4 separate regions of the Homo sapiens genome follow, and regions 1, 2 and 3 are each linked to region 4. The links are contacts of gene promoters, found by promoter capture Hi-C in human tissues and cell types (Jung and others, 2019). All regions are on one chromosome and are shown on one strand. The core of a region is centred on a gene start or on the middle of the fragment in contact, and the rest is flanking DNA. Distances in the headings are between cores, read along the strand shown.

Region 1 (3,466 bases), core at 259-2,758, 850 kb after region 4:
TATTTCCAGGATACAGTCCTCCTTTTTTTTTTTTTATTTGACGGAGATTTGCTCTTTCACCCAAGCTGGAGTGCAATGGTGAGATCTCTGCTCACTGCAACCTCTGCCTCCCGAGTTCAAGCAATTCTCCTGCCTCAGCCTCCCGAGTAGTTGGGATTACAGGCGCCCGCCACTACCCCCAGCTAATTTTTGTATTTTTAGTAGAGACAGGGTTTCACCACATTGGCCAGGCTGTTCTTGAACTCCTGACATCAGATGATCCACCTGCCTCGGCCTCCCAAAGTGCTGGGATTACAGGTGTGAGCCACCGCGCCCAGCCAACAGTCCTCCTTTAACAAAGACTATGCACCTTTCCAATATTTTGACCAGATGTAGGGAGAAGGCTTCGAATTTGGCAATCCAGCCCAGGAAAAGCAAAAAATGAACAAAATCCAATATAGGCTAGAAATCTGGTTTTAAATACATGTTCTGCTAAGGACCTCTTTTAGTCTATGAATAAAATTCAATTATGTGTATTTTGTGCCTTATTCTGATTTTTTTTACTTTTTTTTTTTTTTTTAAGGCAGGAAGGTTCTCGCTGTGTGGCCCAGGCTGGACTCCAACTCCTGGGCTCAAGTGATCCTCCCTTCTCTGCCGTAGCAGAGACTACGGGCCTCTGCCACTGACTGCGGCCTTATTCTGAATTTTTAATATCTAATTTTATCATCCCCCATAATCACAGCCAACATTTTCTTATCTCCTGGCTCTTCTTCATCAGCTCAGCATTTTTTTTCCCTCTCTAAAATATGTCGTCTCTATCTGACAGTCTATTCGGAGGAAAAGAGAACCTTAAGACCCAAGGTGGACCCTTCTCTGGCAACAGTAACGAGATAAGAATACGAAGCAGGTTCTGCGACTGCATTGCAATGTGATTGGAATGAGTAATCGTTTTTCATTCTGTATAGCATCTTTCTCCACCTACCAAATGGGGGGCCGTGCCATCTCTGCCTCTCGGTGAGGAGATATTACGACACAGCCAGTGAGATTCACAAAGCACCTTGCAGAGTGGGCCTACTCTACACTCTGGTTTTCAGTTTTTATTGGAGTCACAGGTGGGAATGCATCAAACAAAAGATATAGGCTCTGGAATGTACGGGAAAGAGAGTTTCCATAATGGAAGCCCAAAGACATTTCTACCGTTAAAATACATAATCTGCCGACCCTAAAACATTCACATAAAGAGGCAGGAGGGAATACTATCCCGCAGCTCCACGATTAGCCGCAGTCGTGGGCGGGGATTGGGGCTTGGATACGCCTTTTGCGTCTGGTCCCCAAGGGACGCTCCCCAACCCTCGGCGCGCGAGGCGCCGCGTGAGGCCGGCTTTGCCCCTCCTTCCCTGCAAGAGCGCAGAGGAGCGGTTCTTGCGCCTGCGCCCTGCGCCGCTGCGCGCTTTGGCACCCGCTTGGGGCCCTTTGTGCGCATGCGCGCTCGCGCTCCCGCCCTCTAGCTGCGCTCGGCTGAGTCAGTCAGTCTGTCGGAGTCTGTCCTCGGAGCAGGCGGAGTAAAGGGACTTGAGCGAGCCAGTTGCCGGATTATTCTATTTCCCCTCCCTCTCTCCCGCCCCGTATCTCTTTTCACCCTTCTCCCACCCTCGCTCGCGTAGCCATGGCGGAGCCGTCGGCGGCCACTCAGTCCCATTCCATCTCCTCGTCGTCCTTCGGAGCCGAGCCGTCCGCGCCCGGCGGCGGCGGGAGCCCAGGAGCCTGCCCCGCCCTGGGGACGAAGAGCTGCAGCTCCTCCTGTGCGGGTAAGGCGCGCGGGGAGCCCCCGCCCTGGGAAAGAGGGCGAGCGGGAGCCTGGGGGCTGGGGGGATTAGGAGGCGAGGCGGGAGGAGGACGAATTACCCTCGACTACTGACGGCTTCAGCCCCCCGGGGACGAGCGTTTGGAAAATGGGCAAAGGGGAAGGGGAACGTAAGGTTGTGCAGGCGGTGAGGAAATAGCGGGGTGTGAGGAAAACAGGTTGGGGGCGGGGAGATAGTCCAGTGGGCGTTAACGCCAAGACTGGGCAGGTGGGGAAAAATACCAGCTCGTGGGATAAAATGGAGAGTTGCTCGATGCATATGGTGAACCTGGGTGATTTAGTGAGGATTAGAGAGATTGAAAGGATACGGGCAGGTGGGTGGTGGGAGAAACAATTTGTTACTATTTTTGAGGGGATGGTGGTGAAAGGGTTGCATTGCAGGTTTGCAGACAGGTGTTGACATAATCAAGCATTCATGATAGTCCTCCAAAATATTTTTGGCTGCCCATGGGAAGGATGAGGAAGTTTAATGGAAGCATTGTAGCCTGTTTTTTTTGTTTGTTTGTTTTGTTTTTACTGTTTTCGGCTAGACTCCATGAATGCCGGATTTTTCTGAGGCTCCGAGGTAGAAGGAGGCGTGATGAGAATAGCTCAGGGAAGATTTGGGAGGGAGCTGCTAATGGTCCAAGATGGATCCGTGGCTGCATCTGCAACAGCCTGCTCTTCCCTGGCGCTGCGTGGGGGTGGGGACACGCAATCAGTCGCTTATATTCTAGAAAATAGAGTCATGCTAAGCTATCAACATGTTTTGATTTCATGTTTTCTGTGGGCTACTATTGATCGAAGTATAACAAAGGGGGGTGTTTATTGCAGAAAGGGGGAGGGGGAGAACATTCAGACAAAGCAAGGGCTGGTTGAGTCCCCTTCTCCCATCTCTGTGAAAGACTAAGAACGAAGCTGCAGACCTCCTTTAGTTTGCATTGTATACGCGTCTGCCTGCTGGTAAGAGCTGCCTGGCAAGCTCCCCTTATGCAGAAATCTGCAGTGCAGATGCCTTCTTAAGGGGGGAAAAAAAAACCACCATGGGCAGGTGGTAGTTCTCAAAGGAACGGAGTCTTTGAAGGGAAAAAAAATGCCTTTTGTCAAAGGCAGGGCCGTAAATTCGGGAGAGTAGAGATAATTTTGCTCTCTATTTAGTTATGTTAAAGGATTTTGATCATTTTTTTTTAATGCTTCGTTGTCTCCTTTGGCAGAATCTTGGGTTCTAAAGAAAAAATTTCTGATCTTAACCTTAAATGTATTATTCTCTACGTGTTTTTCTAGCAGTGAATTTTCACCTGTCTGAGAGCTTTGGAGCCCTGTTGGATTTTTTCAGTGTGGTTATGGCCATTTCAGTAGAAACAGGCAGTATCAGGAAGCTTTTGCAGATAAAAGAATGAGGCAGCAAATTTAGAACCCTGTCTCCTTTAAACCACCAGCCTTTTCTCCAAATTTTTGTGTTCTGGGCTAAGGTCCAGATGAACAGCGACTTCCTTATAACTTAGCAACTTGATCTTTTTGCTTTAATCACTTGTCATTGCTTACTGTTTGGTAGGCCCTTTTGTACTTACCTTTTGGGTTTTCTTGATTTTTCATTTTTGATTCAGACCTAAGTTTTAGAAATTTGGCTCTGTAAGCTCAAGA
Region 2 (3,327 bases), core at 675-3,174, 790 kb after region 4:
ACTGCACTCCAGCCTTGACGACAGAGCAAGACTCAGTCTCAGAGAAACAAACAACAACAACAAAAAAATTCCAGAACCTTTAACCTGGGAAATGTCCAGGTTTTGTGTCTCTTGTTGTTCAATGGCCATTGTTAACTGGAATTGGTTATCTGTAATGGATTATTTGTTTTGGTCTGCCCAGCAGTCTTTCATTTGGTGACTCCATGTGGTTCTGGTGGAGCTGTCAGTCATAGCACGTGGTCATCACTCTGACTACAGACACCTGCACCCTAGGTCTGGCTGGTTATAATGCCTCAGAGGCCAGGCTAGTGTTGACCATGGAAGGAGCATGACTCAAGCCAAACAAATCAGAAGCCTTCTCTGGAATGGAGATATACACACGTGTTTTTTCATAGGTAGCTCAAAAAAAAAAAAAGCCTGTTTCCTCAGGGCACATTAAAGTGGGATGACATAAACCTGGAACCACTGGTGCCTGTCCTCCCCTGGGGCATGGAGGAAACCTATCTGCAACAGCAGATAAATAGGTCACTGAACACTGAAATAAGAGCCCTGTTGACATTTGAGTTCCTCCAGTGCCTGATGTCAGCTTTACCCCTATATGTCCGATTACAAGAAACTTTTTCCCAGTTAACAATTTTTTCCTTCTTTAAGCTAATTAGAGTTGGACTTGTCTTTTGCAAAGTGATATATGATAATCAAAAGCAAGAATGTCAATGCGCCAAAGACAAGCCAGCTTGCTTGACTGCTCCCCATCTATACAGGACCGCATTCGTCACCCTGGTCCTTCCTTCTCCCCAGTTTATGCTGAGAGCGTCTACACATCAGTGTAGATGGTGGCACCCAAGTCCTGAATCTTTGTTTTCACCATACTCTTCACATCATCAGCCTCTGAGTTTGCCCCTTCCCTGCTAAACTGTGATGAACTCAAGGGCAGCACCTGGCAAAGCACCTGACACATGGTAACAACCAGGGATGGATGGTTGGATAGAGAAAGTCTGCTGATCCCACCCAGTGTTTCCAACTTGGGAAGAAATCTTTTTACTGTAGGGCTAAATGGGGTATGTCTAGCTATTTGTCGTATTTGAGAAGTTCAATTCAATCTCCTCACTGTGTCCATCAGTGAAAGAGAAAGCTTTAAGTAGAGATTTACGTTCCCTGCCCCCACCCCTGAAGAGCAACTGTTTAATCAGCTGGCTCCAGATGGGGCAACTAAATGAAAGTGCTACAAATTCAGAGGTCTTCACAAGTCCATGTTACTGTAAATGAAATTTGCGTAATTTTTTTTGAGAGACAGGGTCTTGCTGTTGCCCAGGCTGCAGTACAGTGATGGGACCGTAATTCACTGCTGCCTCCAACTCCTGGGCTCAAGTGATCATCCTGCCTCAGCCTCCAGAGCAGCTAGGACTACAGGTGCGCACCGTCATGCCTGGGTTTGTTTTTTGTTTTTTCCAGAGACGGGGTGGAAGGTGTCTCCATATGTTGCCCAAGCTGGTCTCAAAACTCTTGGGCTCAAGTGATCATCCTGCCTCAGCCTCCCGAGTAGCTAGGACTACAGGTGGGTGCCACTATGCACTTTTATTTTGTAGAGACAGAGGTGGAAAGTGTCTCCATATGTTGCCCAAGCTGGTCTCAAATTCCTGGGCTCAAGCATTTCTCCCACCTCAGCCTCCCAAAGTGCTGATTACAGGAGTGAGCCACGACACCTGGCCCTTGTGCTCACTTTTAAGCAACCCTGCCAACAATAGAGCCTTCTCCAGGACTATGCTAGTAAGACACTTGTTCAGTGTCGTTTTGTAGGACAGAGAAAGCTAACTCAAACCACATTGCCACTATCCCGTCAGAAGTCTTATTCACTTTGCCAAGCCAAACTATTTCACAGAACCTCCCATATTAAAAACACAGAGAAAGAAAACACAGATAACATGGTGTTGTGATCTTTATTCCATTAAATGATCTTACAAATTGGAGTAAAACAGAAACATGCTTTTAATATACTAATAGCATAATCTCATCCCATTGCACTTTTTAAAAACTATATTAAGTTTCAAAGCCACTCAAAGGCAAGGGTCTAGCAGACAGTACTTTTAACAAATCATTTTTTAAAATAAAAAAACCTGAGGAAAATTTGTGTATGTACAAGATTAGTATTAACTCCTTTAAGGCTTACATCCATGACAGCATGTATCTAATTAGAAAGCTATGGGAATCAATGCTACCTTCCCTTGCTCATAAAAACATTTAAACTGTAGTTCTGGCACACGAAATTTGCCCCAAAGAAAAATGTCTTTCAAAGCCCTTCTGTCCCTAGATCTGTTTTGCAAAGTTTCTGATATGGGGTACTTAGGTCACTAATGACAGGAATTAGGATCTTGTCTTCTTTCTTGTTCATTATTTTTATTTGTGGCTTAATGTTTCACCTGTATGTGAAAGATTTGGGGGTTCAAGTCACAGTGCTGAATTTTACTTTTTAAAAGAAAAACTATCAAAAATTGCTTTTAAAAAATCCTAATTACATTAGAAAATAGGATACCTGTACATTCATTTTTCAGAGAAGGCACTATGACAATGGAGAAAAACAGCTTTAAAGAGCTTAGATAATCCTCTGAATTAAAGGCATTCTTACTACTTCTGAACACAGAAAACGCCTGGGGATTGTACTGGCAAGAGACCACCTATTCTAAACCTCAGGTACAAAGTGTCCACTTGCCTCCAGACAATACTGAATTGTACTTTCTCCTTGGTACTTCCCATTCGATGAAGCAGTCTCTCTCTGTGGTCTCTGAACCACTATTTATAAAAGTGATGACTCCAGGACCACAGCCCATACCACCTGAGGCAATCCCTGGGTACAAAGCTAGGAATCTGAACTTTTTAAACAAGCCTGCTAGGTAAGTCTTATGCACTCCAAGGTAGATGAGAACCACTACCCTAAACATAGCTACAACAGGACTTACAGCAAGAAAAACCATTTGACTGCAAATATTATTTTACAATGGGCTTCTTAATGTCATTTTTAAAAATTAATCACACAAATAGTTTGTACTTTCATAACTGAAGCTTGTCTTCATTATGCCCTTATCCCTTGACTAGAATTTTGTTAAATAAAACATATGTAAGCCAGAATGACACAGCCATGTTGACAACTTGAGATGGAAGATCAAATCATCCTAAATTACATTTCAATAGTTCCAGGAAAGAAAAAAGTCCTGTGAAGACTTCCATGTAAGTTACATCATTTTTTAAAAGAACCTAGCAAAAAATTAAAAACTGTTTTATTAAAGTTTTAATTTTTAAAAAATTAAAAAATTAAAACTGTTTTATTGCTTT
Region 3 (3,501 bases), core at 210-2,709, 650 kb after region 4:
ACAAAATACTAGTTAACTGAATCAAACAGCATATCAAAAAGATAATCCACCATGATCAAGTGGGTTTTATAGCAGGGATGCAGGGATGGTTTAATATATGCAAGTCAATAAATGTGATATATCACATAAACAGAATTAAAAACAAAAATCACATGATTATCTCAATAGACACAGAAATAGCATTTGACAAGATCCAGCATCCCTTTATGATTAAAAACCTCAACAAAATCAGCATAAAAGGGACAAACCTCAAGGCAATAAAAGCCATCTACGACAAACCCACAGCCAACATTATAGTGATTGGGGAAAAGTTGAAAGCATTCCCCCAGATAACTGGAAAAAGACGAGGATGCCCACTTTCACCACATTTATTCGACATAGTGCTAGAAGTCCTAGCCAGAGCAATCAGACAAGAGAAAGAAATAAAGGGCATCCAAATCAGTAAAAAGGAAGTCAAACTGTTGCTGTTTGCTGATATGATCATAGACCTGGAAAACCCTAAAGCCTAATCCAAAAAGTCCTAGAACTGGTAAATCAATTTAGCAAAGTTTCAGGATACAAAATTATTGTACACAAATCAGTAGCCCTGCTGTACACCAACAATGACCAAGCTGAGAATCAAATCAAGAACTCAACCCCTTCTAAAACAGCTGTAAAAAAAAAAAAATACTTAGGAATATACCTAACCAAAGACATGAAAGATCTCTACAAGGAAAACAAAACACTGCTGAAAGAAATCACAGATGACACAAACAAATGGAAACACATCTCATGCTCATGGATGGGTAGAATCAATATTGTGAAAATGATCATACTGCCAAAAGCAATCTACAAATTTAGTGTAATTCCCATCAAAATACCTATTCACAGAACTAGAATGAAACAATCCTAAAATTAGTATGGAACCAAAAAAGAGCCCACATAGCCAAAGCAAGACTAAGCAAAAAGAACAAATCTTGAGGCATCACATTACCTGACTTTGAACTATACTGCAAGGCTATAGTTACCAAAACAGCATGGTACTGGTATAAAAACAGGCATGTAGACCAATGTAACAGAATAGGGAACCCAGAAATAAAACAAAATACAGCCAACTGTCTTCAACAAAGCAAACAAAAACATAAAGTAGAAAAGGACATCCTATTCAACAAAAAATGCTGGGATAATTGGCAAGCCACATGTAGAAGAATAAAGCTGGATCCTCAACTCTCACCTTCTACAAAAATCAACTCAAGATGCATCAAAGATTTAAATCTAAGATATGAAACCATAAAAATTCTAGAAGATAACATCAGAAAAACCCTTCTAGACATTGGCTTAGGAAAAGAGTTCATGATCAAGAACCCAAAAGCAAATGCAACATAAACAAAGATAAATAGATGGGACCTAATTAAACCAAAAAGCTTCTGCACAGCAAAAGAAACAATAAGCAGAGTAAACGGACAACCCACAGAGTGGGAGAGAATTTGTACAAACTATGCATTCAACAAAGGACTAATATCCAAAATCTGCAAGGAAATCAAGCAAATAAATCAGCAAGGAAAAAAACAATCCCATCAAAAAGTGGGCAAAGGACATGAACAGGCAATTCTCAAAAGAAGATATACAAATGGCCAACAAACATATTAAAAAACTGCTCAACGTCACTAATTATCAGAGAAATGCAAATCAAAACCACGATGCAATAATACCACCTTACTCCTCCAAAATGGCCATAACTTAAAAATAAAAAAAATAATATGTGTTGGCATAGATGTGGTGAAAAGGGAACACTTTTACACTGCTGGTGGGGATGTAAACTGATACAATCACTATGGAAAACACCATGGAGACTCCTTAAAGAACTAGAAGTAGCACAACAATTTGATCCAGCAATCCCACTACTGGGTATCTAACCAGAGGAAAAGAAGTCATTGTATGAAAAAGGCACTTGCACATGCATGTTTATAGCAGCACAATTCACAACTGCAAAAATATGGAACCAGCCTAAATGACCATCAACCAATGAGTGGACAAAGAAAATGTGGTATATATATATATGCACACACACACACATACACACACACCACGGAATACTACTCAGCCGTAAAAAGGAATGAAACAATGACATTCACAGCAACCTGGATAGAGCTGGAGACCATTATTCTAAGTGAAGTAACTCAGGAATGGAAAACAAAAAAATCATATGCTCTCACTTATAAGTGGGGGCTAGCTATGAGGGCACAAAGGCATAAGAATGATGTAATCAACTTTAGGGACTCAGAAGGGAAGGGTGGGAGTGGGGTGAGGGATAAAAGACTACACATTGAGTATAGTGTACACTGCTCAGGTGATGGATGCACTAAAATCTCAGAAATCACCACGAAGGAACTTTTGCATGCAACCAAACACCACCTGTTCCCCCAAAACTATTGAAATAAAAATACAGATAAAAATGTATCAAATATGTAAATGTAAAAAACAAAACTATAAAATACCTAGAAGAAAACAGGAGAAAATCTTTGTGACACTGGATTAGGCAAAGGTCTCTTAGATACACCACCAAAGGCACTATTCATAGAGATTTATATGAAATCATGTTGTATGTCCACTTCTTTGGCGGTCTCCTTCATATAACTATTTTGAGTGACATCCGTGTTGTTGCTTTTTATCAACAGTTCATTCCTTTTTATTACTGAGCAGTATTTCATTACATTTCCGTTTTATAAAAGGAAAAGCTGACACATTGGACTTCATCAAAATTTAAGAACCTGTTCTGAAGAGACAAGCCACAGATGGAGAGAAAATATTATAAAGTATATATCTGATGACGTACTTGTATACAGAACTTCTGAAGAACTCTCAAAACATACAAACCAATAGGAAAAAATGGGCAAAAGATTTGAACACTTCACCAAAGATTATATATATGGATGGCAAATATACGCATGAAAAGACGTTCAACATTATTAGTCATTAGGAAAATGCAAATGAAAACCACAATGAGATACCTACACATCTATTAAAATAGCTAAAATTTAGAAGATTTTGACCATGCCAAATGCTGATGAACTGGAACTCTTATAAACTGCTGGTAGGAATGTAAAATGATACAACCACTGTGGAAAACAGTAAGTTAAGGTTAGAGCTCTTTTAGAATTTGTCTGGCAGGCTTGGAAAGCCCCAAAAAAGAAAAAAAAAATGTTAAGGAAAACAGTAAATTAAATATACATCTACCACATGACCTAGCCATTTCATTCCTACATATTCACCCAAGAGGAAAAAATATACAGTCTGCACAAAGACTCGTACATAAATGTTCAAGCAGATTTGTGATAGTCAAAAACTAGTAACAACTCAAATGCTCAATCAACAGGTGAACACATAAACAAGAGTGGTATATCCATACAATGAAATACTGCTCAGTAATAAAAAGGAATGAACTGTTGATAAAAAGCAACAACATGGATGTCAGTCAAAATAGTTATATGGGCTGGCTGCAGTGGCTCATGCCTGTAATCC
Region 4 (3,347 bases), core at 838-3,337:
CTAAGGCAGGAGAATCGCTTGAACCCAGGAAGAGGAGGTTGCAGTGAGCCGAGATTGCACCATTGCACCCCAGTCTGGGCGACAAGGCAAAATTCCTTCTCAAAAAAAAAAAAAAAAAAAAAAGAGAGAGAGGAAGAGACTGGGCCTCGCTCAGCCTTCTAAGTAGCTGGGACTACAGGCACATGCCACCACGTCCAGCTTTTTTTTTTTTTTTTCCTGTAGAAACAGGGTCTTGCTTTGTTGCTCCTGCTGGTCTCTAACTCCTGGCCTCAAGTCATCCTCTGGCCTAGGCCTCCCAAAGTGCTGGAATTACAGGTATGAGCCACCACATCCAACCCTAAGTGATTTTGATACAAATTACTGATCTAGGGCCAGGTGTGGTGTCCAGACCAACCTGGGCAACATAGTGAGACACTGCCTGTACGAAAAAATTTTAAAATTAGCTGAGTGGTGCATCCATGTAGTCCCAGCTGCTCAGGAGGCTGAGGAAAGAGGATCCCTTGAGTCTAGGAGTTCAAGACTGCAAGTGAGCTATCATCACACCACTACACTCCAGCCTGTTGACAGAGTTGAAAAACAGATCTCAAAACAAAACAAAAACAACAAATTACTTATCTAGAAAATGTCCTTAATCTTACAGAGATAAAAACTAATATGTAACTAGATTAACTAATTTTCTCATGGTTACAGAGCAAACTTATGGTAGAAGTATATTGGAAAATTCAAGGTGCATGTTTCTCAGCTAAAGGCTCTTCCTAGAACTTGTTCCTTATTCACACCAATTATATTGCAGCCAAGTACTCTCTGAAGTACTCCCTCCAGAATAGCAATCCTGCCCTCCAAAGGATTCCTCACAAAAAAAAGTCTAAGTCCTTGCCCCTAGTTAGCCAGCCGACCTCTTCTCTGTTGCTTATAGCAGACCCTACAGGCCCCATCCAAGCCTATCAGTTCCATCAGGTACCCCCCAAAATTACTTCGGTTAACAGTGGTGGAGCACAGTCCTTCCTAGATTTGAGTAAGGCTCACTCCTCGCCTTTTCCACTCCAGGTCCTTACCTGACGGGTCTGCAGCGACTTGCAGGCAGACAGAAACTCCTGGGTCCGATCCCGGCAGGACATGGTGTCGGGAGGGGGAGGGACGAGGGTCACTGGGGGGGGCAGAGGGGCGATGTCGCTGCTGCTACTGCCAGCAGTTGCAGGGGACAGGACCTGTGTCTTTGAGAGACCCAGGTAGACACCCTGATCCGTGTTCTTAGACCCGTAGCGTTTCCGCGGGATCATTGAGACGCATAACCTCGGACTGTTGTGGAGGGGAGAGTGTCATTCCCCAGGCAACTTCTTTACCCAAACTCCCCCGCCCCACCCCAATCAACAAATCCCCGAGCCCCTTCTGCACTTCTCGTGGACTTTCGCGCCCAGGACGCTCGCAAATCCTGGGGCGGACCAGCAGCGGAAAGGGCCCCGCTTTTCCCCTGTCCCAAGTCGAACCCGCTTCAGACTCTTCTTCCAACTTGGCTCTGGCGGCCAGAGCGCGGGCCGGGGACCCTGAAGCAGAGACAGGGCCAGAGCCAACCCCGTGGTCCTGAGACTCCGGCCCGGCCCGTGTAACTGCCCCGGGCCCTAACCCAGCCCTTTCGTTTCCGCGGTTTCCTTCGGCCCCTCCGGGAGGGCCAGTGACGGACCTCCAAAGACTGACACACTTCGGTGGGCGGAGGGGGAAAACCTCTGGGTGTTTATTTGAAACAGGAAGTCCCACCCCCCGCCCAAGGTCCGCCTTCTGGAAGACTTCAACCACTCATTAGCTAAGGCCGACGTCTCTCTCAACAGAGGCTTTCCTGATTGGACGGCAAGGAATTCGCTCACCCGGAGCCGGGCCGGCAGGACTTGCCCGCTCGCCCCTGATTCCCTTCCCCCCGCCAGTCGTCGCCCCCGTAAAACCACTGCCCCAGAGCTGACACGGCGGCCAGATCCCCTCTTAAAGCGAATCTTACCTCCCCTCTGCCGCCTGCCGCCGCCGCCACTTCCAATCTCACCGGCCGTCACTGCCTCCTCCCCGAGCACTGAAGCCGCCGAAACCCGACCAAAGACTGGAAGCGGCCACGTCACCTACACGTAACCCCACCCCCAGTGACGAGGGGGCGGTCCCACGCGTTTCAAGCCCAGCGACCCGAAAGACACGCCCCACACCCAAACGCAAGAGCGATCCCGCCCTCCCATTGGCTAAGGCGCCACCGTGACCCCGCCCCAGAGTACTACAGCAGGCGCTCAGGGGGCTGGGCCCGCCTCCGGGAAGGAGCCTTAAAGAACCAGCTGCCCGGTGGTGTCCGCGCCCAGTCCCCCAGAGTGGTCGTGCAGGTATACGTTAGAAATTTTATTCTCTGGAGGTTGGGGCGGACTGAGAGCAGGTCTGGGGTCATCCCTTCTCCGGCTCCTCCTGGTTGCCTTCTCGGATCGGACTCTCCTGCTTCCGAATCTGGTCTGGTTGCCTCTTGCTTGGCCGCGAGGAGCCCCGACGACCGAACGTGGATAGTCGCCGCCACAGCACGGTAATCAGAAGGCTTTCGTTCGACTTGTGATTCGGATGGTCCGGGGAGTTCAAGTCGATATCTTCGGCGCCTGAGGGGACGACGAGGCCTCTGAGCTCACCCCTACCCTCGGGAAGCCCCCTCTCACACTCCCTGGGCCCTCTTTGTGTGTCTGTGGTCTCATCTTCCCTGCCGTCCTCAGACTCTTCCTCCTTGGACTGCTCATCAGACATCTCAAAGTCCTTGTCTTGGCAGCAGCCCATGGCCCCGCGTGGCCCTGGACTCCGTGCCACCCACGCCAGCCTGCCTGCCTCCAGGCCCGGCTTTTGTGACATCAGATATCCCGTCGCCCCAGCTCAGGCAGCCCCCACCCCAAGCTACCCCTCATTCCTTTCTCCCATCACAAAAGGCTCAGGGTCATGGTGGGTGTTCAGCAGTTTATTTACAAAGTGGGCACAGGGGCGTCAGGGGCTGGTGGACCCAGGCCGCTTCTTCTTTCTCCGTCTCGTTTGGAGAGCTCCTTGGGGCTGCTCCAAACCCGAGAGCTTCCGCTTGGCAGCTGCCTCCAAGGATGCCCAAAGTTCATCTGTCTCTGTGTCTTCTAGGGGCACCTTGTTGGGTTCTTGAGGCTCTTGGGGCTCATCCTGGTGAGTGGGAAGAAAGCTTAGGAGTCAGGGGGGCCGGGCACGGTGGCTCCCACCTGTAATCTCAGCACTTTGGGAGACCAAGGCAGGAGGATTGCTTGAGCCCAGGACTTAGCGACCAGACTGGGCAACATAAGGAGACCCCATCTCCACAAAAAGAAGTTTAAAAAAAAAAAAAA

The links. The method cuts DNA at HindIII sites, captures the fragments that hold promoters and counts their contacts. A contact is called where the count stands out against the background at its distance.
Region 1: a contact is called between the fragment with the promoter of RTN3 here and the fragment with the promoter of STX5 in region 4, in 1 of the 25 tissues and cell types used here (dorsolateral prefrontal cortex).
Region 2: a fragment that was not itself captured here is called in contact with the fragment with the promoter of STX5 in region 4 in 1 of the 25 tissues and cell types used here (hippocampus).
Region 3: a contact is called between a fragment that was not itself captured here and the fragment with the promoter of STX5 in region 4, in 1 of the 25 tissues and cell types used here (hippocampus).

Annotation. Positions count from the first base shown.
Region 1 is chr11:63,679,992-63,683,457 of GRCh38, forward strand. It overlaps RTN3 (reticulon 3), which reads left to right and starts at 1,509. Exons shown (of 9, transcript NM_001265589.2): 1 at 1,509-1,787. The coding sequence starts at 1,646. RefSeq lists a silencer at 1,682-1,801. The HindIII fragment of the contact is 15,067 bases long and covers 1-3,466 here.
Region 2 is chr11:63,622,164-63,625,490 of GRCh38, forward strand. ATL3 (atlastin GTPase 3) reads right to left here. Exons shown (of 13, transcript NM_015459.5): 13 at 1,924-3,327. All of the region lies in intron 1 of LNCROPM (lncRNA regulator of PLAAT3 mediated phospholipid metabolism), which reads left to right. Among named protein-coding and RNA genes, the nearest start is that of LNCROPM, 7.5 kb to the left of the region's middle. The HindIII fragment of the contact is 4,329 bases long and covers 1-3,327 here.
Region 3 is chr11:63,484,394-63,487,894 of GRCh38, forward strand. All of the region lies in intron 3 of PLAAT5 (phospholipase A and acyltransferase 5), which reads right to left. It also overlaps the pseudogene LOC124902822. Among named protein-coding and RNA genes, the nearest start is that of PLAAT5, 5.0 kb to the right of the region's middle. The HindIII fragment of the contact is 8,832 bases long and covers 1-3,501 here.
Region 4 is chr11:62,829,964-62,833,310 of GRCh38, forward strand. STX5 (syntaxin 5) reads right to left here and starts at 2,088. Exons shown (of 11, transcript NM_003164.5): 1 at 1,991-2,088; 2 at 1,056-1,299. The coding sequence starts at 1,280. TEX54 (testis expressed 54) reads right to left here and starts at 2,878. Exons shown (of 1, transcript NM_001395459.1): 1 at 2,358-2,878. The coding sequence starts at 2,787. The coding sequence ends at 2,413. WDR74 (WD repeat domain 74) reads right to left here. Exons shown (of 11, transcript NM_001369450.1): 11 at 2,948-3,168. The coding sequence ends at 2,989. It overlaps STX5-DT (STX5 divergent transcript), which reads left to right and starts at 2,271. Exons shown (of 2, transcript NR_135084.1): 1 at 2,271-2,354. RefSeq lists enhancers at 1,999-2,088, 2,459-2,528, 2,549-2,598. The HindIII fragment of the contact is 7,048 bases long and covers 1-3,347 here.